7 separate regions of the Homo sapiens genome follow, and regions 1, 2, 4, 5, 6 and 7 are each linked to region 3. The links are contacts of gene promoters, found by promoter capture Hi-C in blood cells and fetal thymus (Javierre and others, 2016). All regions are on one chromosome and are shown on one strand. Each heading gives the region's core, a stretch centred on a gene start or on the middle of the fragment in contact. The rest is flanking DNA. Distances are from core to core; before and after follow the strand shown. Region 1 overlaps FGGY (FGGY carbohydrate kinase domain containing). Region 2 overlaps FGGY (FGGY carbohydrate kinase domain containing). Region 3 holds the start of JUN (Jun proto-oncogene, AP-1 transcription factor subunit). Region 4 has its middle 32 kb from the start of MIR4711. Region 5 overlaps FGGY (FGGY carbohydrate kinase domain containing). Region 6 overlaps FGGY (FGGY carbohydrate kinase domain containing). Region 7 overlaps FGGY (FGGY carbohydrate kinase domain containing).

Region 1 (2,700 bases), core at 70-2,569, 940 kb after region 3:
AAATGTCTGTTGCAGAGCAGTTTTAGAATTTTAGTGATCCAGCTTATCAATTTTTTTCATGGATTATGCTTTTGGTTTTGTATCTAAACTTATCACCTAACCCAAGGTCACCTAAATTTTTTCCTGTTATCTTCTAGATGTTTTATAGTTTTGTGTTTTACAATTACATATGTGATCCACTTTGAGTTAATTTTTGCAGAATGTCTAATGTCACTGTCTAAATTCATTGTTTTGCATGTGGACATACAATATTTCAAACATGACTTGTTGAAAATATTACACTATATCCTTTGAATTACCTTTACTCCTTTGTCAAAGGAGTTGGAAAAGGAATAAATCAGTTGACTCTATTTGTGTCTATTTCTGGATTCTCTCCTTGGTTCCATTGATCTATTTGTCTTTTCTTTCCCCAACCTTACACTGTCTTAATTATTGTAGCTTTACAGTAAGTCATGAAGTTGGGTAGTGTCAGTTCACTGACTTTGTTCTTTTTCTTTAGTATTATGTTGACTAATGTAGATCTTTTGCCTTTCCATATAAATTTTAGAATCATTTTATGGATACTTAAAAATAGTTCGCTGAAAATTCAATTTATTTATTTCATCAGAGTTTTGTAATTTTCCACATATAGATTCTGTGTACTTTTGTTAGATTTATACCTAAGTGTTTTTGTGGGGGTTTTTTTTGTTTTTTGTTTTTTGTTTTTTTTGCAGCATGCTATTTTAAGTGTTATTTCTTAATCAAATTCCATTTTTTCCTCAATGGTAATTGCTAGAAAGAAATTGACTCTTGAATATTAACCCTGTATCCTATACCCTTACTTGTTTGCTTATTAGTTCCAGGATTTGGTGGTGTTCTCATTGGGTGGGTTGGTTGATTTGTTCATTCTTTGTGATTTTCCACATAGACATTCATGTCATCTGAGAATAAAGACAGTTTTCTTTCTTTCTTTCCAGTATGTATGCCTTCTCATTTCTTTGTCTTTTTGCACTAGCTAAGACTTCCAGTACAGTCTTGAATAGGAGTGGTGAGAAAGGACATTCTTGCTTTGTTCCTGATCTTAGTGGGAAAGCATCCAGTTTTCCATCAAGTATGATAATAGCTGTAGAGTTTTTTTGTACATGTTCTTTATCGAGGTGAGGAAAATCCCCTATATTCATAGTTTGCTGTGAATTTTTAATTTTTAATCACAATAAAAAATGATTGTTAGATTTTTTTGAAATATTTCTCCTTCATTTATCAACATGATTATATAATTGTTTTTATTTAATCTGTTGATGTAATGGATTACATTGACTGATTTTTGAATGTTGAACCAACCTTGTACACCTGGAGTAAATCGTATTTGGTTGTGGTATATAATTCCTTTTACACGTTGTTGGATTGATTTGCTAATATTATATTAAGAATATTTTGCATCTATATTCATGAGAGAGAGTGGATTTTGGCTTTCTTTTTTTAATGTCTTTGTCTGGTTTTGGTAATAGGGTAATGCTGACCTCATAGAATGAGCCAGTAAGTTTTTCTTCTGCTTATTTTCCTGGAGGACATGGTAAAGAACTGGTATAATTTCTTCCTTAAATGTTTGCTAAAATTCACTAGTAAAAACCATTTGGGCCTGGCACTTTGGTTTTTGGAAGGTAATTAATTATTGATTCAGTTTCATTAGTGGATACAGCTCTATTCAGATGATTTATTTCTTGTGTAAATTTTGATAGTTTTTGTCTTTCAAAGAAGTAGTCCATTTCATCTAAATTATTTTTAGTTGCCAATGTTAGTAATTTGTAACTTCTCTCTTTTTATCTTGATTACCCTGGCTAAAGGTTTGTCAGTTTTATTGCTCTTTCTAAAGAACCAGCTTTGGTTTCATTGATTTTTCTCTATTGCTTTCCTGTGTTTAAATTCATTGATTTATGCTCTAATTTTTATTATTTCTTCTGCTTTTTTAAAATTTTAATTTCAACTTTTATTTTAGATACAAAGAGTACATGTATAGGTTTGTTACATAGGTATATTGTGTGATGCTAAGGTTTGGGTACAGATCCTTTCTCCCAGGTAGTGAGCATAGTACACAATAGGTAGTTTTTCAACCCATGTCTCCCCTCCCTCCTGTCCCCCTCTAGACATCCCAGTGTCTCTTGTTCCCATGTTTATGTCCATGTCTGCTCAGTGTTTAGTTCCCACTGACAAGTGAGAATATGTGGTATTTGGTTTTCTGTTCCTACATTAATTTGCATAGGATAATGGCCTCCAGCTACCTCCACGTTGTTGAAAAGGACGTGATTTTTTTCTTTTTTATGGCTGCATAGTAATCTGTGATGTACATGTTCCACATTTTCTTTATCCAGTCCACCATTGATGAACACCTAGGTTGATTATATGTCTTCACTATTATGAATAGCATGGCAATGAACATGCGAGTGCATGTGTCTTTTTGGTGAAATGATTTCTTTTCCTTTGGATGTATACCCAGTAATGGGATTGTTACATTGAATGGTAGCTCTGTTTTAAGTTCTTTGAAAATATTCACAGTTAAAATGAATTACCTAGGAATATACTAACCAAGGAGGTGAAAGATCTCTACAAGAACTATAAAACACTGCTGAAAGAAATTGGAGATGATACAAATAAATGCCAAAACATTTCATGCTCATGGATCAGAGCAATCAATATTGTTAAAATGGCCATACTTCCCATACA
Region 2 (2,700 bases), core at 50-2,549, 850 kb after region 3:
TAATAGGATCAGCACACCTACACAGAGCAGAATAAATGAATACTGTAGTAAAATATACGTAGTGTGTTATCAGGCTGTGTAGAAAAGGAGGACTGATTTTGACAAGGAGTTTAAGAAAAGCTTCATAGGCATTCCCTTCTAGGAGTCTTTAGTTATAATGCCATTGCAATTAGTCATTAATTACAATTACCATTGAGAGGGATTATGTCACATAACCTTACCAACTAGCATATTAGTGGCATAGAGACCATATAACCTAGAAAAGGGATTCCTAATTTCGGATCATCAATGAACCTCTTTAAATTGTGTACTGTTCTGCTGATTACATAATTCTGCATGTATTTCTGTGAAGGGACCATAACGGTCATTATTTTCTTAAAGGGTTTAAGCATTTATAAACCACTAAGCCAAAGAAAAGAGCACTAAATTTATAGTCTGGAGACCTGAATCCAAATCTCAGCTCCAACATGTATCATTGTGTGAAACCCATTTTCTTCATTATAACATAGGATAGTAATGGAGAATCAACCCGAAACACCTCTAAGGATTTATTTTGAGTTTAGAAGAGGTAATATATTTGACGGGGCCTTGTAAACTGAATTGTGACAATAATGATGATCACTACTACTCTGTTAGTCCATTCTTGCACTGCTGTGAAGAAATACCTGAGACTGGGTAATTTATAAAGGAAAGAGGTTTAATTGACTTACAGTTCTGTGGGCTGGGCAGGCATCAGGAAACTTACAGTCATGGTGGAAGGGGAAACAAACACATCCTTCTTCACATGGTGGCAAGAGAGAGAAGTGCTGAGCAAAAGGAGGAAAAGCCCCTTATAAAACCATCAGATCTCATGAGAAGTCACTATCACAAGAACAGCATGAGGGTAACCACACCCATAATTCAATTACCTCCAACCAGGTCCCTCCCACAACACATGAGGATTATGGGAACTAAAATTCAAGATGAGATTTGGTAGGGACACAGCCAAACCATATCAACTACTACTATTACTACTAATGATTGTAAGAGGAGGAAGTTTGGTGGTGGTTGCTATGGGTTCAAGCAGCATACGTCAGTCATTCATACCTTGCCTGCCTTCTTATGGAAAGCATGGAGGAACAGCAAGGACAGGGACTGTGAATTAGAGTCCTTGAGTTCTTGTACCTGTTCTGCCCTGAATGTCTCAATGACTACTAGATTCTTCATCCATAAATTACAATAATGATACCCTACTTACTTCATTTTACAGGCATTAATAGGATGAAAGCAGGTCACAGGAATGTCTGTATATGAACATTTTAGTGTGTAACACAAACTTACTGAATATTTAGTTTTGCAATGACATACTCTAAACTTCCAGAACTTTCTTCTATAGATAAACTTCATTTGAGTAGCTTCTGTTGCAAATCATAATAAAAAGAAGAAAGAATTTATGGATTACCATGCAAACTCAGAGAAACAACAGTATCGGGTGGTTCAGAAGCAGCAACTTACAGAACTCAGTGATGGAGTCAGAACTGGATTTAAATCCCACCTCTTTTCACATAACTTCAAACCCACTTCCAGCTACTTTCCTGTATTTCTCCTTCTGTTTAGAGTGGAGTTTCTCCAAAGCATCGCCTGTACTCTTGGTCTCTACTTCTCCACTTCCTACTCCTTCCTTGCCCACTGCAGTTTGAATTCTGTCACCATCAGCCCCCTGAAACGTTTCATATTAAGGTTATCAGTGACCTCTATTTTGCTAAGTCCATAGGATGTTTTTTATTCCCCTTTCTTTAGTTCTCAGCAGCATGGGGCATCAGTGATCACTTTTTCCTCCTTTTAACATTCTCTTTCCTTGACTTTCTGGAATGTCACCCTGTCTGTTTTCTCCCTATATCTCTGATTCCTCCTTCCTAACCACTTTTCTTGAGTTTATAGTCCTTTTCTTGACCATTAACATTAATTTTTGTCACAGCTAGCTTCCTGGCCCTCTTCTCTCTTTGCCATCTCTTCCAAGATGATCTCAGCTATGCTCTTGACTTCATTTCTGTCTATATTTTGATGACTCTTTTATGTCCAGCCCAGATACTTAGTAGGTATTCAGTAAATGTTAGTTCGGTTTCCTTCCACTTTTCTTTTATTGTCTTACAAAGGAAAGTGCATCTGTGTCTTATTAGATCTATGAGTACAATATTCTAAAACTATGGGACCCTTTATGCTTCCGGTCTTAGAAAGAAACAGGCATAGCTGTTTTTGAAATGAAGTTAGCTGTTTGGAAGAGTGGACAAATCCTTCTGAATCAAGAACCATGTGTCTCTTTTACTATGACTTGGGGCTTTCTGAAAACAGCAATGCAGGTCACCCCTATCTCAGAGCTTAGGGTCAGCAAATCCTGTTTGAAACTGTGGAAACAAGTGTTGATAAACAGATTGAGTATTTTATACTCTTGATTTACAATAATCCTCTTAGGCCCCATCTCTGAAGAGAAGTGTTTTGCAAGCTTATAAATTAAGTAAACAAGAACTGGATGTGCCCGTACATGTAACTGGTAACCAAAGTTTCTCTTCATGTGGGGCCAAATTTGCAGATATTTCACTCTTTAGCAGAGATCACCTTATGTCAATCATAAATTTTGACTCTTTTCCTCTAAACTTGATTCTCTTAGAGGTTCTTAACTAACAGTGTCTCTGAATTAGGTTCTGGTGACAACAGGGTTTA
Region 3 (2,700 bases), core at 163-2,662:
CGGGAGCCACCATGCCTGCCCCGTTGACCGGCTGCGCCGCCGACGTGACGCTGGGCAGCGTGTTCTGGCTGTGCAGTTCGGCCAGGGCGCGCACGAAGCCCTCGGCGAAGCCCTCCTGCTCATCTGTCACGTTCTTGGGGCACAGGAACTGGGTGGGGGTCGGCGTGGTGGTGATGTGCCCGTTGCTGGACTGGATTATCAGGCGCTCCAGCTCGGGCGACGCCAGCTTGAGCAGCCCCACGTCGGGCGAGGTGAGGAGGTCCGAGTTCTTGGCGCGGAGGTGCGGCTTCAGGCTCCCCACTGGGTCGGCCAGGTTCAGGGTCATGCTCTGTTTCAGGATCTTGGGGTTACTGTAGCCATAAGGTCCGCTCTCGGACGGGAGGAACGAGGCGTTGAGGGCATCGTCATAGAAGGTCGTTTCCATCTTTGCAGTCATAGAACAGTCCGTCACTTCACGTGAGGTTAGTTTGGGCTGCGCGCACAAGTTTCGGGGCCGCAACAGGGCTGTGGCAAGCGGGGGACACCCGCGCCCCCCGGAGCCTTTGACAGGGAAAGTTTCTCTAAGAGCGCACGCACCCGCTGGCTGTCGTCCCCGCTGCGCCCTCCTCACCAGCTCGCTCCAGGGAGCGCAGGGTTAATTAAGATGCCTCCCGCACTCTTACTTGTCGACTCGCGCGCGCTACCCGGCTTTGAAAAGTCGCGGTCACTCACTGAGCGCTCTTCGTGCGCAGCGGTTCCTCGGAGTCCGCAGGCGAACTCACTTCCCAGAGCAGCGGCTCTCCCCGCGGAGCGGATCAGTGCGGACCCTGCAGTGGCCGGCCGGCGGCGGGTCTTGGCCGCCCGGACTCCGACGACTTGTCCCCTCCTCCGCTGCTAGGGGGAGGGGGCGCCCGGCAGCCGCGGCTCGCGCTCGCCCAAGTTCAACAACCGGTGCGAGCGAAGCTGAGCGCACGTCCTTCTTCTCTTGCGTGGCTCTCCGCCGCCTTCTGGTCTTTACCGCCGTGGAGAAGCCTAAGACGCAGGAAAGGCTTGCAAAAGTTGGCTCCGGGACTCTGCCACTTGTCTCCGGTCCTCCCAGCCGGGAAAGTTCTTTGCTGCTGCAGCCGCTCGCCGACTTCCCCCGGCGGGCGCGTGGGTACCGCTGCTTTCCGCCGCTGTCAACAGCGCCTGGGCAGCAGGGCTCTCCTCCCGGGGGCGGCTGGAGACCAGGCTCTCTGGACACTCCCGAAACACCAGCCCGGGAGCCACAGGCGCTAGCTCTGGGCAGTTAGAGAGAAGGTGAAAAGAAAATAAGATTTGCAGTTCGGACTATACTGCCGACCTGGCTGGCTGGCTGTGTCTGTCTGTCTGCCTGACTCCGCGCACCTCCACTCCCGCCTCGCTGCTTCAGCCACACTCAGTGCAACTCTGAGCCCTTATCCAGCCCGAGCTCAACACTTATCTGCTACCAGTCAACCCCTAAAAATAGCCCATGATGTCACCCCAAGGCCTTCCCATTGGCTCGCGTCGCTCTCAGGGGGGCGGGCCCGCCCGTCACCATGGAGACTCCACCCTAGAAGATTCTTCTCTGGGCCCGCGGAGGCTCACGGGATGAGGTAATGCTCCGCTGCCCTCCTACAGTCGGGCCCTTCTTTCTCCTACCCTCCCCCCTGCCGCACGCCTCTCGGCCCTCTCTTCCCCGGTCCCCTCCCCGGGCCGTTTTTCCCGGCCCGCCCGGTGCATTGTGGGCTGACGTCTTGGGGTTTGACTGTCTAGTGACGGTGGCTGCCGCGAGCGGGCGGACGCTCGCAACCTCTGATGGAGGGGGGCTCAAGTTCACGGCTGCGGACGGGGATGCGGGGGATGCAGGGACCCGGGAGGCCAGGGAACCTGGCCAGTTGTTTTGGGCCAGGGGTGCGGGCGAGGGGTGGTTGTTGTTTCCCCACTTGTGGGGCCCGAAGTCATCCACCGGCGGCCGCCACCGCGCGGGGCTGGAGGCTGAGAATCCAAGTACGCTGCCACCCCCCCGCACTTCCGGGGGGGCGGGAATACCGCCCTTAAGGTGGCTCTGTGAAGTCCCAGGTGGGGGCGAGCCTAAGGGGACTTAAGTTTAGGGGCGGTCTCCCGAGAGTCGGCCCCCCACGTTGAGAACACTCCGAAGTTTGCATCTCGGTCAAGTTCAGGAGCGACGGTCCGCGGGGTCGTCTGGCTGCTCGTAGAAGCCGAGAGATTTGTATTGCCCGAAACTGGACGCTCAGCTGAGTCTCCGTTGCACCCCACTTCATCCTCCGGGACCGTGGGGGAAAGGGCGCGGGGGTTCACAGCTTTGCCTCGGAGGGGCAGTTTTTATAGTGGGCGCAATTGGTGGGTAACAGGGTCCAGATGGGAACAAGCGTGTAGGCGATCCGAAACTCGGGGAACCCCGGTGTTAGTCTACTCCCCCTCCCGCCCCCGGACAACACGCACACGCTTAACACAACACGCACAACATAACGCGCGCGCGCGCGCACACACACACTCCATCCGCGCCGAGTTGCTTCCGGGAAAACAAGCCCAGAAGGCGGCGGACACTCGCATAAAGTCACGCAGTAGTACTCGGAGCCCGGGGTAGAACCTGGACTTCAAATCTCTGCACTCCCGGCCGGGTGGTGGGCGCATATCCTGGGTAGCCTCTAGGAAGCGCTAGACACATGTAAGTGGTTCCTTTTCCGCGGTTATTTT
Region 4 (2,700 bases), core at 14-2,513, 980 kb after region 3:
AAGGAAACTGAAGAAACCTGATGGCTAAAAGCTTTTGATGTAGACAAGCACTGGGAAAACTAGCTGTTTTAGTTGATACCACAGCAGACACACAAACGCACACAGACATACACATACATATACATACATAAATATGTCAACACCCACACATAATTTCAGACCCAAGAGTAACTGCTAACGTTGATTTGAGAGCTGTCATAGCTCAAATGAGTGTGGGTAGAGGACATGCTAAGACTTCAGCAAAAGACAGCAGGTAGAGAAGAAAAAGCCAATATAATTCAGTAAATAAACATCCTCTGGAGTACTTTGTGCCACATGTTGTGGTAAGCACTGGTCTACAGGAATAAATAAGACATGGCCCCTGCCTTCAGGAACCTCCCTGTTTAATGAGAGACATAGACAAATAGATTGATGACAGTACATTATGAGAAATGCTACAATTACAAAAAAAAAAGTACCTGCTGCATGGAGCCCATCAGTCAGAAAAGGAGGAAGGAGAAGGTGGGATGAAAAACAATATGGTGTAACAGCTATGAGCCCTGGCCTGGGATCCTAGGCCTGGTCTTACCTCTTACTAGATGGGTGACTTGGAGAAAGGTCCTTAATCTTCCTAAGTCTCAGTTTCCTCATTTTGAAATGAATAGGTATTGAATATGAATATGTTTTTTTTGTTGTTGTTGTTGTTGGTTTTTTTGTTTTTGTTTTTGTTTTTGTTTTTTTGAGACGAAGTCTTGCTCTCGCCCAGGTTGGAGTGCAGTGGCTTGATCTCTGCTCACTGCAAGCTCCACCTTCCAGGTTCACGCCATTCTCCTGCCTCAGCCTCCCGAGTAGCTGGGACTACAGGCACCCGCCACCACGCCCAGCTAATTTTTTGTATTTTTAGTAGAGACGGGGGTTTCACCATGTTAGCCAGGATGGTCTCGATCTCCTGACCTCGTGATCCGCCCGCCTCGGCCTCCCAAAGTGCTGGGATTACAGGCGTGAGCCACCGCACCTGGCCTGAATATGTTAATAGTACCTACTTTACAGGATTATAATGAGGACTAAAGGAGATAATGCATATAAAGCACTCGGCTCAATTGCATGGTCCATGCCTGTGTTATTACAGGGCTCTGCTCCTAGAAGATGCTCAAAATAGTAACTGTAGTAAGCATGGAGAAGGGTGAGCACCCCAGTTATGAAGGTCAGCTCTGCAATAGCATTCTACAGTATCCAAAGGATATAGGGACCTTAGGCATAGCCCCGAGTGAAGGTGGGTGTGCGTGTCTGATCTAGCTGGCCTAAAAGCAGAAGGAAGCCCAGTGCATTCATAGATCCTAGCCAGAGGTTGCACTAGGGATAAAGGAGGATTGGGGATCACTACAGAAGAGGAGTCGGGTATTGCAGGATCTAAGCAAGATGTCAGGTCTATGGTCAAACAGGCTTCAGCTGCAAAAGCTGATTATCACTCACTGAGAAACGGGCAGGCCTGGACCTGCTCACACAAAACCCTGGTGAATGCGGTGGTTGTCTGTGGATACAAAAGGCAGACATAAAAGCATGAATAATTACCAACTATCTGCCAAGTCCTTGTTGTATGTCCTCTCCAATCCTCCTACAGCACTGTGAGGTAGGCAGCATTATCTCCACCTTATAGTTGAGAAAGTTGAGTTTCAGAAAAGACATAGTTGAGAAAATTGAGTTTCAGAAAAGATAGACACTTTGCCCAGAGTCACCAGATGGTAGCAGAGATAGGATTCAAATCCAGATCTGCCTGGATGCAAAACTTTAGGTATCACCCCACTGTAACAGCTGGAGAGGAATCCTGCCCACCACCTGCTCTTTAGTTGCAGTGCTCATGTTGTTGATTGCCAAGCTCCGGGTGCTGGCCATTCTTTCAAGCAAACTCGTATCCAAACCAAACCTGACCTGAGTTTTCACTGCTTTATAGAGAAAGGAAAACACACAGAAATTAGGCAAAAACACATGGCAACACTAGGACACCTTTGGCATCTCAACAGTGAGGAGCAGCTTGATAGAAAGGAGAAGGGCTGAAAGACCTTGGGCAACATAGCTAACCTGTCTAAGCCTCAGTCTTTCCCTCTGTGGTGGGATCATTCTGCTACCTACCTCCTAGGGTTGGTGGTAAGGATTCAGTGAAAGAACTGTGGATAAAGCCCTTAGCACAATGCCTTTCAGACAATAGGCACTCTACAAATATTGTTTCTCCATGGTTCTCTCTGCCTCCTAGCTAGGAGGTTAATCCCTAAGAAAATCATTCTGGTTCCTACTATAAAGCCACCGTGTTAGGAAAAAATATAAATGTCTATATATAATTCTATTAGAAACCACGTGTGGCTCAGTAATAAAAATTTTAATCACTCCAATACACACCTCCTTGCACTGAGAAAGGTGGTTTTATTTAATACATGCATGTAAAGTATATTTAGCTTTGATGAATAAGAATTGCAGTGTGGCCAGAGTGGTTTGTGAGATTTTTGTTTTGTTGCCTACTGAAAGCTTTTCTTTCAAGTTAAAGCCAGACTTGCTTAGCAAATCATTTTGCCAAGGAACGCATTACAGGTTTTAAATTTTGACCAAAAATACTTCCCATATGCGAAGAACATAAATGTGGCTTTCAAAAGAGCCAAAGAGAACAAAAGCTGGGGGAGGTGAGGAAGAAAAGACAAGAATGACAGAATGGAGTGGCATGTTGCAGAG
Region 5 (2,700 bases), core at 31-2,530, 870 kb after region 3:
CTCTTGTTGGAACCATTCAGCCTCCAGCTAGGGAATCAGTTCATCTGGCCTATCCTAGCCTTTTCAGCCATTTCAAAGCTGTGCCTCTCCCAGGACTTCTTTGGCACTCCCAGGGCACTGTCACCACCTCCCTTCGAAGACAGCTCCCCGAGGGTCCTTTGTAGCCTCTCAAGCAGTCTTCATGGCACTCCTTGCAAAGTTCCGTCATGGGTTGACTGGGCTGAGGTCCCTGGTATTTGAGAGAAAATTAAATGGACTTAACGATCATCTGCATATCAGATGAGATGTCAAGGAAACAAGGACCTCAGACCACAGTGTCTTTGCACTTGAGAGATAAATATCTTTCACTAAGTCACATTTCAATACCATGGCTCTAGTGTTAGTGGTGAGGGAATACTGGAAACGGTTGTATGAGAATTGTGTTTGTGGCTTCCCTTTTGATACTGAATACCTTCTATATTATGATCCATGCAAGAAATCTCTTCTAGAATTTCTTCCCAGGAATAATTTTGTCTCCCTTCAAGGATAGCTATGTTTTATTTATCAGAAAAAAAGCTATTTCACCCTCATGTGTCCCTTTTTGCCATAGCTGCTAGCAAGCTCAGGATTTAAATTTAGTGCTCAATTACATTGATTATATCATTCTCAGTTTCTGGGGAAAAAAATTATCCTCCCGTTTCTGCTCTATGATTTCTGAGCTCTGGAGGCACTGGAAATTTAGAGAAGGGTCCGTGATATCTTTTTGCATGAATACCAATGCTTTTTGGAAATTCTCGTGGATATCTGCTGGGGATTAAGGAAGTTAAATCCAGCTATGTCACACCCTTTCTTCTCTCTTATGGATTCTTACTAATTGAGAAGGATATCAGAACCCATTACATTATCAGTATTATTATACAAAGCACTGGGGTTCCTAATAAATATTGTTAGGGGAATGCATCTTATATACAAAGTCATATTTTACCCCCACTCCCAACAAAAATCATCCAAATCTGGTCTTCAGGAGTGGGTCAGCCACACAGAGGATCATGGCTTAATCCTCTTCCCATTGATGACCAGAGAGAGGAAGCCAAAGGGAGGCAGCCTCCTGGACAGGCTCTAGAACAGTGCACTAAGCCATGGCCCAGCAACTTCCCTAGGAGACCTAATAGCAGAGGTGCTGTTGAGGCCAGGCCAGTACAGGAGAGACAGAGAAACCGTGTGTGAATGGTGTTCATGACTAGTGATCATTGCCAGGACCACCGCATGCTAGCATGGTGCAGGCAGCTCGCAGAAAGTGTTCAGCTCAGGGATGTTCAGCTCATGACTGGTGTTCATGACTAGTGATCATTGCCAGGACCACTGCATGCCAGCATGGTGCAGGCAGCTCACAGAAAGTGTTCCACTCAGGGGGCTATGACCAGGCTGAAATCCTGCTTACTCTGCACCTTTTTATAATTCATACTCCCAGATGGGGTGCCTTTTTCAAACTCAAGACAAAGGCTCTATATGAGGTACAGGGACCCTTCCTTTTACCCTATTCTCATAAAAGCCACTTCTCTGATGAGAAAGGGTAAGTTTAGGGATGGTGGAGGGCAGGTGGCAACATGGAGCAAGTAACTAAAAGTGTTCTTCCAGTGTTCTTTTCTCTTGGGGCATGGTCTCCTCCTCTCTGATTGTGTGAGGAGCTGAGGCAGTAAACTTTGTCCACCTGTACTTGTAGAATTTAACAAAGAAGGATAGGACATAAGGAGAGAAAGTGGTGTCTAAAAGGTGAAAAGAAGCATTGAATTGTCACTGGTTCATAGTTCACAGTGCTGAGTGAATTGTCACTCAGCAAATATTAACTGAGTGCTTACTATGTTCCAGGCACAGCACTGGACATTAGAGCTTTGGTGAGTAAGACGAGCAAAGACCATCAGAACACCTACATTCTGGTGTCCATTCTCTGTGTTCCCTTAGGCACATTATTTCCTCACTGTGAAATAAAGTTCCATAATGTCAGCATTGTTCATGTTCTCTCTGAGTTCCAGAATTCTTACCATATGCTTAGGTCTCTGGGAAACTTTGTGAAGGATGTTCTTTCACAGTTAATGGCTTAGGATGATTCAGCGCCAGAGTTCTTCTCGTGTCTCTCATTTAAATTTTCCATCTTCTTGTGTATTAAAAAATCAAAGCCATCATTCTAATCTGATTGCCCAATTATTTGCCAAGAAAAACTGTCAGCAGGTAGCTCTACTGAATGTAGGAATCCCCGCATCAACAGACTTAGATAAATAATTCAGCATAGCTGGAGCATAGGATACAGAGTGAGGAGGGACAAGAGTAAACACTGGAGAAGAAGCAAGGGCGAGCCCAGGAAGAAGCACATGAGACAGTGAACGCATTTCTACTGTGAAATGAGGGCAATGGGGAGAACGTTTTACAGGGAGTAACACGATCAGATTTGCATTTAAGAACAGTCGATCTAGCTCTAGTATGGAAAGGAGCACAATTAGAAACAGTGAGATTTGCTCAGGGCCTCTGTCAGCAATTAGGAAGGACATAATGGTGGCTTGAATTAAGGAAGTGAATGACAGTAAGGATCAAGAAAAGGAGATGCATTCAAAAGAGATTTGGGAGATCAAATGTACAAAACTTTGAGACTGCTTAAATATGGGAAGACAGGGGAGGTCAAGAAAGATGGCTTCTGGCCAGGCGCAGTGGTTCACAACTGTAATC
Region 6 (2,700 bases), core at 93-2,592, 790 kb after region 3:
CCAGTAATAAAAGCTATATAATGGATTACATTTTTCTTCTGGCCCTGGAAGCCAAGGAAACTCAGAGTTAAAAATTTAACACTCAAGCTAAACTGTTGAGCCTTCTACTACATAGCATATTTCCATTCTTCTTTTTGCTGTAATTGTCTTGCATTACTGTTTCTAGTCACTCTGTACTATATTATCTGTGTATGTATGTTTGTGGGAGTGGTAGATAAAATATCTCAAACTCTTTGTATTAGTTTCCTATGGCTGCTATTGTAGCAAGTTGCCATACACTTGGTGGCTTAAAACAACACACATATATTTTCTTATGGTTCTCGAGACTAGAAGTTCAAAACCAGTTTCACTCAGCCAAGATCAAGTGTCAACAGGGCCGTACTCCCTCTGGAGGTTCCAGGGGAAAACCTGTTCCTTGCTTCTTCCAGCATCTGGTGGCTGCTGGCATTCCTTGGCTTGTGGCCACATCATTCCAGCCTTGCCTTCTGTGGTTTCATTGCCTCCTCCTCATCTGTGGTCACATCTGCCTCTCCCTGTCTCTTACAAGAACAGTTATGATTGCATTTAGGCCAACTCAAATAATCCAAGATTGTCTCCTCATGTCAGGATCCTTAATCACATTTGTGGGTCCTTTTTTTTTCTTTCTTTTTTATTTTTTTGCCATATGAGTAACATTCATAGGTTCCAGGGATTTGAACATGGTGATCTTTTCAGGAGCCATTATTCAGCCTACCATACCCTTTATGGAAAGAAGTGACATTTAAATGTGTTTTTTAAGGTACATAAAAATAAAGTATTAATTTATTTGGAAAATATAAAGTACTTCTGCACTCTGTGTATAGTGAAGGAACAAAGATAAAAGAAATCAAATTTCTGTTTAGTGATTTTTCATTGCTTTTATGAATTACATTGAATTTTCTATTATATTTCCTATTTGGTTATTTCTGGAATAGAGAAATATATTTGACTTTTTTTAGAAAGTAAATTATTTGTTAATATGAATGAATAATACCTGTGAGATTTCCAATGAAAAGAAGCAAAGTTTTATACATCAAATTTGCTTCCAAATGCTAATATACTAAAATCAGTGCTAGTTATGTTTAATATAGGTTGCTGAGAAAAATAGTTATCTTTTATGGTTTTTAAAAAGTGTATGTTAATTTATTTTTATCGTTTATTTCTTACTGACAAATGCAAATTGTATATATTTATGGGGTTCAATGTGAATTTTGATATACTATATATTGTAAAATGATTAAATCAAGCTTATTGACATATTCATTACCTCACATACTTTTTTGTGGTGAGAACATTTAAAATCTACTCTCTTAGTAATTTTCAAATATACAATACATTTTTATTAACTATAGTCACCATGCTGTGCAACAGATCTTCAAAACTTATTCCTCCTGTCTAACCCAAGCTTAGTACAATTTGGCCAACATCTCTGCTTTACCCCTTGGCAACCCCACCCTAATAACCAACATTCTACTCTCTACTTCTATGAGTTCAACTTTATTAAGCTTTACATATAAGTGAAATCGTGCAGTATTTATCCCTCTGTGTGTGGTTTATTTTACTTAGCATAATGTTCTCCAGGATCGTCTGTGTCACTGCAAATGACAGAATTTCCTTCTTTTTTAAGACTGAATAGTATTTTGTTTTGAATCTATGGCACATTTTCTTGATCTGTTGATGGACATTTAGGTTGATTTCATATCTTGGCAATTGTGAATAATGGTGCAGTGAACATGAGAGTGCAGACATCTCTTCAACATATTGTTTGCATTTCGTTTAGATACACCCAGAAGTAGAATTGCCTGATCACATGGTAATTTGTCATTTTTTTGAGGAAACTCCATACTGTTTTACAAAATGCCTGTACTAGTTTACATTCCCACAGATTTTTAAAAAGTTAATCTTCTACCCACTAACCTTGCTAAACTTTCTTATTTTTTTAAAATGTGCATGTATTATATATGCTCTGCATGCATTATAAATGTTACAGTAATTTTTAGGTACAACACTAAATATTCTCATATGGTTTGGATGGTCAGTGAAGGCTTCTGTAAGGAAGTGATATCTGTGATATTTTGGTTAGGAAAAAAGTGGTCCAAACATAGAGGACAGTATGAGCTATATATACAAGATCATATCATCTGCAAATTTTGCTTCTCTCTTCCCTTCTTTATATCTTCTTTTGCTGTTAATTTTTGTCTAATTGTGTTTGCTAGGGCCTCTGGTATTATGCTGAACAGTTGTGGTGATAAAAAGCATTCTCACATGCACACATATGTTTATTGCAGCACTGTTTACAATAGCAAAGATTTGGAACCAACCCAAATGCCCCTCAATGATAGACTGGATAAGGAAAATGTGGCACATATTTACCATGGAATACTATGCAGCCATAAAAAAGAATGAGTTCATGTCCTTTGCAGGGACATGGATGAATCTGGGAGCCATCATTCTCAGCAAACTAACACAGGAACAGAAAAACAAACACTGCATGTTCTCACTCATAAGCAGGAGTTGAACAGTGAGAACACATGGACACAGGGAGGGGAACATCACACACTGAGGCCAGTCGGGGGGTAGGGGGAAAGGGGAAGGGAGAGCATTAGGACAAATGCCTAATGCATGCAGGGCTTAAAGCCTAGATGACGGGTTGATAGGTGCAGCAAACCACCATGGCACATG
Region 7 (2,700 bases), core at 117-2,616, 960 kb after region 3:
TTTTTAACTTTATGAGTAATTATTTCTATTACTTCTATTTTACAGATGAGTAAACTGAGGGACAAAGAGGTTAGTTAAGGCCCAAGCCATTCTGTTTTGTTTGAGACAGAGTCTCCCTCTGTCATCCAGGCTGGAGTGCAGTGGCACGATCTCGGCTCACTGCAACCTCCGCCTTCTGGATTCAAGCGATTCTCCTGCCTCAGCCTCCCAAGTAGCTGGGATTACAGGCACCTGCCACCACACCCAGCTAATTTGTGTATTTTCAGTAGAGACAGGGTTTCACCATGTTGGCCAGGCTGGTCTCGAACCCCTGACCTTAGATGATCCACCCGCCTCAGCCTTCCAAAGTGCTGGGATTACAGGCGTGAGCCACTGCGCCCGGCCCACCCAAGCCATTCTGTTAGCTAGTGAAAGAGTCAAAGTTCTAATCTAGCCAGTCTAGAGCCTGTGATCCTAACTGTCTGACATCGGACAATGAAGAATGTGTTGACCTGGCAGGAAATACCAAAAAGTACAACTGAGGGAGATCCTAAACTTGCTTTATACAGATATCCTGGATCCTACCCCTGATTCATTCATTAATTCATTAATCCATTTACTCATTCATTTAATTCTTTCAACATGTATTTATTACATTTTTGCATTATTTATATCAATTTTGGGGAATACAGAGAAAGTTAATGGCTTCTACCCTTTGACATCTCACAGTCCAGTGGGGAGACGTAAGAAAACAGACATTTATCCTACTGTGTGCTGAATGATAAGACAGAGGAAAATCAGTGAGCTTTGGGAACATGGAAGAGATTATAAACACATAATAAAGAGAGTTTAAAAGGGCACTACAGTGATTTGCTTTGGACCTGCATTCCACACCTGTCACTCTATCTGTCTGACCTCTGCTCTCTCTATGCTCCTGGCTTCTAGCCCTTCTCTTACTTTGGTACCATCCTTAGCCTCTCAACTCCTGGCTTCAGATTCGATGTCTTTGCTTGTCTTTTTCCTCTGGAAGTTGGTTTGGAATGGATTCTGGCTTGGCTAGAGGGTTTCTGTATCGTAAACAGTCTAAGGCCAGCTCCAAAGTCTAGGCCAGAATATCTAGGCCCCACTACCAAAATGGCTCTCGCTTAGAAGAATTGGAGATCCAAAAGCAGGGAACTTGAAAGAGCATGGAGGGATAGATGGATGGATAGATTCCTTGCCTCTTAGCTTCGATTATTCACCTGCCTAAACCCAGAGCAGTTGGCCTAGTGACTAACCAACATCCCTTGCAGCTCAATCATTATTCATTATGTTAATATTATCACACATTTTGATTCTTTGCTGTCGATTTGGTTGCTGATCTGCTGGCCAAAGGATCATCATGGGAAGGAATTACTATTGAAGCAGGCAGTGCAAATTTCAAAAGTGTTCAGACCCTGCGGCCTTTCATGATATTTCACTTTCTTGAGTTGCAGTCTCCCATTGGCCTGCTCCTTCCGAAGCAGATTTTGTCCCTTGTAGCCATAAGTGAAGCATATCCTGGCTAAATGTTTCTGTGGACTGAAGGTAGCTATTGAATTGGGCAGTTAAGAGAATATTGCAGATTCTTGTCGGTAAATGACACAAAAGATGATGGACTCTAAGCTAGCTATGGAAGAAATTAGAGCCAGACAGGGCACATGAATTGAAAGAAAATGAAGTGATGGAGATTCTGGAAGTTGCTTTAAAGTGGAGAAGGACATTTGCTAAGAATGATAGAGTACATGAGAGAATTGGACTGAAGGGCAATGGAATTCAGAAAGTGGCTGTTGGTATATTGTAATATTCATAAGTATAGCAGTCTCAAGGGGGGCTGTGGGAGTATTGAAGTGAAATGGAGATGAAGGTCCCGGAGGTGGAAACATTTTGAAACCGTCTAACAGTGGAACATTGGATGGGTCTTATGAGCAGATGCTGAAGTTGTCCAGGACAATGATAAACCTCCAGGTAGATAGGGAGGCTTGTGATCTAGGAGCCTTAGCCTCATTTAACATAGGGACAGAAACAAGAGGCTGACAGTGACAGCAGTGAGATGCAGGGGAGACATGTGTCATTGTATCTCCATCATTAGGTGGCATAAACCTCAGAGGAACAGGCTTTTTTGCCTGCAACTGCAGGAATACTTGTCTGGAAATGATAATGAGGAGGCCTGAGAATAATGACTGTTATCACCTTCCCCAACCCACCTGAAACATACACACATGGCAACACTTACCTTTCAATAAAGTTTCTGGGAAAATAAAGTTTATTTCAGTTGATAGGTACATAGTAATAATAACAATATCTGCACTTTTAAGCATTTAGTCCATCCAATAGGCCTATAAAATAGGTATTAAAACTTCCCTTTTTTTGAGACAGCATCTTACTGTGTCGCCCAGGCTGGAGAGCAGTGGCACAATCGAGGTTCACTTCAGCCTCAACCTCCCAGACTCAAGGGATCCTCCTATCTCAGTCAGCCTTCTGAGTAGCTGGGCCTACAAACACGTACCATCACACCTGGCTAATTTTTATTTTATGTTTTTGTTGAGATAGGGTTTCCCTATCTTGCCCAGGCTGGTTTCAAACTCGTTTCAAGCGATCCTCCCACCTCAGCCTCCCAAAGTGCTGGGATTACAGGTGTGAATCACTGCATCCAGCCTAAAATTTCCATTTTTAAAATGAGGAAATTGAGACTCAGGATGT

Evidence for each region. Contacts are between HindIII fragments. The CHiCAGO score rates a contact against its expected background, and 5 or more counts as called.
Region 1: a fragment that was not itself captured here is called in contact with the fragment with the promoter of JUN in region 3 in 9 of 17 cell types (monocytes, neutrophils, megakaryocytes and 6 more); the score reaches 11.2 in monocytes.
Region 2: a fragment that was not itself captured here is called in contact with the fragment with the promoter of JUN in region 3 in 1 of 17 cell types (neutrophils); the score reaches 6.5 in neutrophils.
Region 4: a contact is called between a fragment that was not itself captured here and the fragment with the promoter of JUN in region 3, in 9 of 17 cell types (endothelial precursors, M0 macrophages, megakaryocytes and 6 more). The highest score is 16.5, in endothelial precursors.
Region 5: a contact is called between a fragment that was not itself captured here and the fragment with the promoter of JUN in region 3, in 4 of 17 cell types (neutrophils, naive CD8 T cells, naive B cells and 1 more). The highest score is 7.5, in neutrophils.
Region 6: a contact is called between a fragment that was not itself captured here and the fragment with the promoter of JUN in region 3, in 4 of 17 cell types (fetal thymus, total B cells, naive CD4 T cells and 1 more). The highest score is 7.0, in fetal thymus.
Region 7: a fragment that was not itself captured here is called in contact with the fragment with the promoter of JUN in region 3 in 9 of 17 cell types (M0 macrophages, M2 macrophages, endothelial precursors and 6 more); the score reaches 26.9 in M0 macrophages.

Annotation. Positions count from the first base shown.
Region 1 is chr1:59,724,937-59,727,636 of GRCh38, forward strand. The region is part of intron 14 of FGGY (FGGY carbohydrate kinase domain containing); the gene reads left to right. Among named protein-coding and RNA genes, the nearest start is that of MIR4711, 7.0 kb to the right of the region's middle. The HindIII fragment of the contact is 8,352 bases long and covers 1-2,700 here.
Region 2 is chr1:59,629,298-59,631,997 of GRCh38, forward strand. All of the region lies in intron 10 of FGGY (FGGY carbohydrate kinase domain containing), which reads left to right. Among named protein-coding and RNA genes, the nearest start is that of MIR4711, 100 kb to the right of the region's middle. The HindIII fragment of the contact is 2,362 bases long and covers 119-2,480 here.
Region 3 is chr1:58,782,635-58,785,334 of GRCh38, forward strand. JUN (Jun proto-oncogene, AP-1 transcription factor subunit) reads right to left here and starts at 1,413. Exons shown (of 1, transcript NM_002228.4): 1 at 1-1,413. The coding sequence starts at 436. It overlaps JUN-DT (JUN divergent transcript), which reads left to right and starts at 2,517. Exons shown (of 2, transcript NR_108106.1): 1 at 2,517-2,671. RefSeq lists enhancers at 1,111-1,858, 1,373-1,632, 1,859-2,604. The HindIII fragment of the contact is 7,855 bases long and covers 1-2,700 here.
Region 4 is chr1:59,763,735-59,766,434 of GRCh38, forward strand. No RefSeq gene overlaps it. Among named protein-coding and RNA genes, the nearest start is that of MIR4711, 32 kb to the left of the region's middle. The HindIII fragment of the contact is 2,468 bases long and covers 30-2,497 here.
Region 5 is chr1:59,656,270-59,658,969 of GRCh38, forward strand. The region is part of intron 11 of FGGY (FGGY carbohydrate kinase domain containing); the gene reads left to right. Among named protein-coding and RNA genes, the nearest start is that of MIR4711, 76 kb to the right of the region's middle. The HindIII fragment of the contact is 6,293 bases long and covers 1-2,700 here.
Region 6 is chr1:59,573,809-59,576,508 of GRCh38, forward strand. All of the region lies in intron 8 of FGGY (FGGY carbohydrate kinase domain containing), which reads left to right. Among named protein-coding and RNA genes, the nearest start is that of MIR4711, 160 kb to the right of the region's middle. The HindIII fragment of the contact is 158 bases long and covers 1,264-1,421 here.
Region 7 is chr1:59,744,137-59,746,836 of GRCh38, forward strand. The region is part of intron 14 of FGGY (FGGY carbohydrate kinase domain containing); the gene reads left to right. Among named protein-coding and RNA genes, the nearest start is that of MIR4711, 12 kb to the left of the region's middle. The HindIII fragment of the contact is 3,397 bases long and covers 1-2,700 here.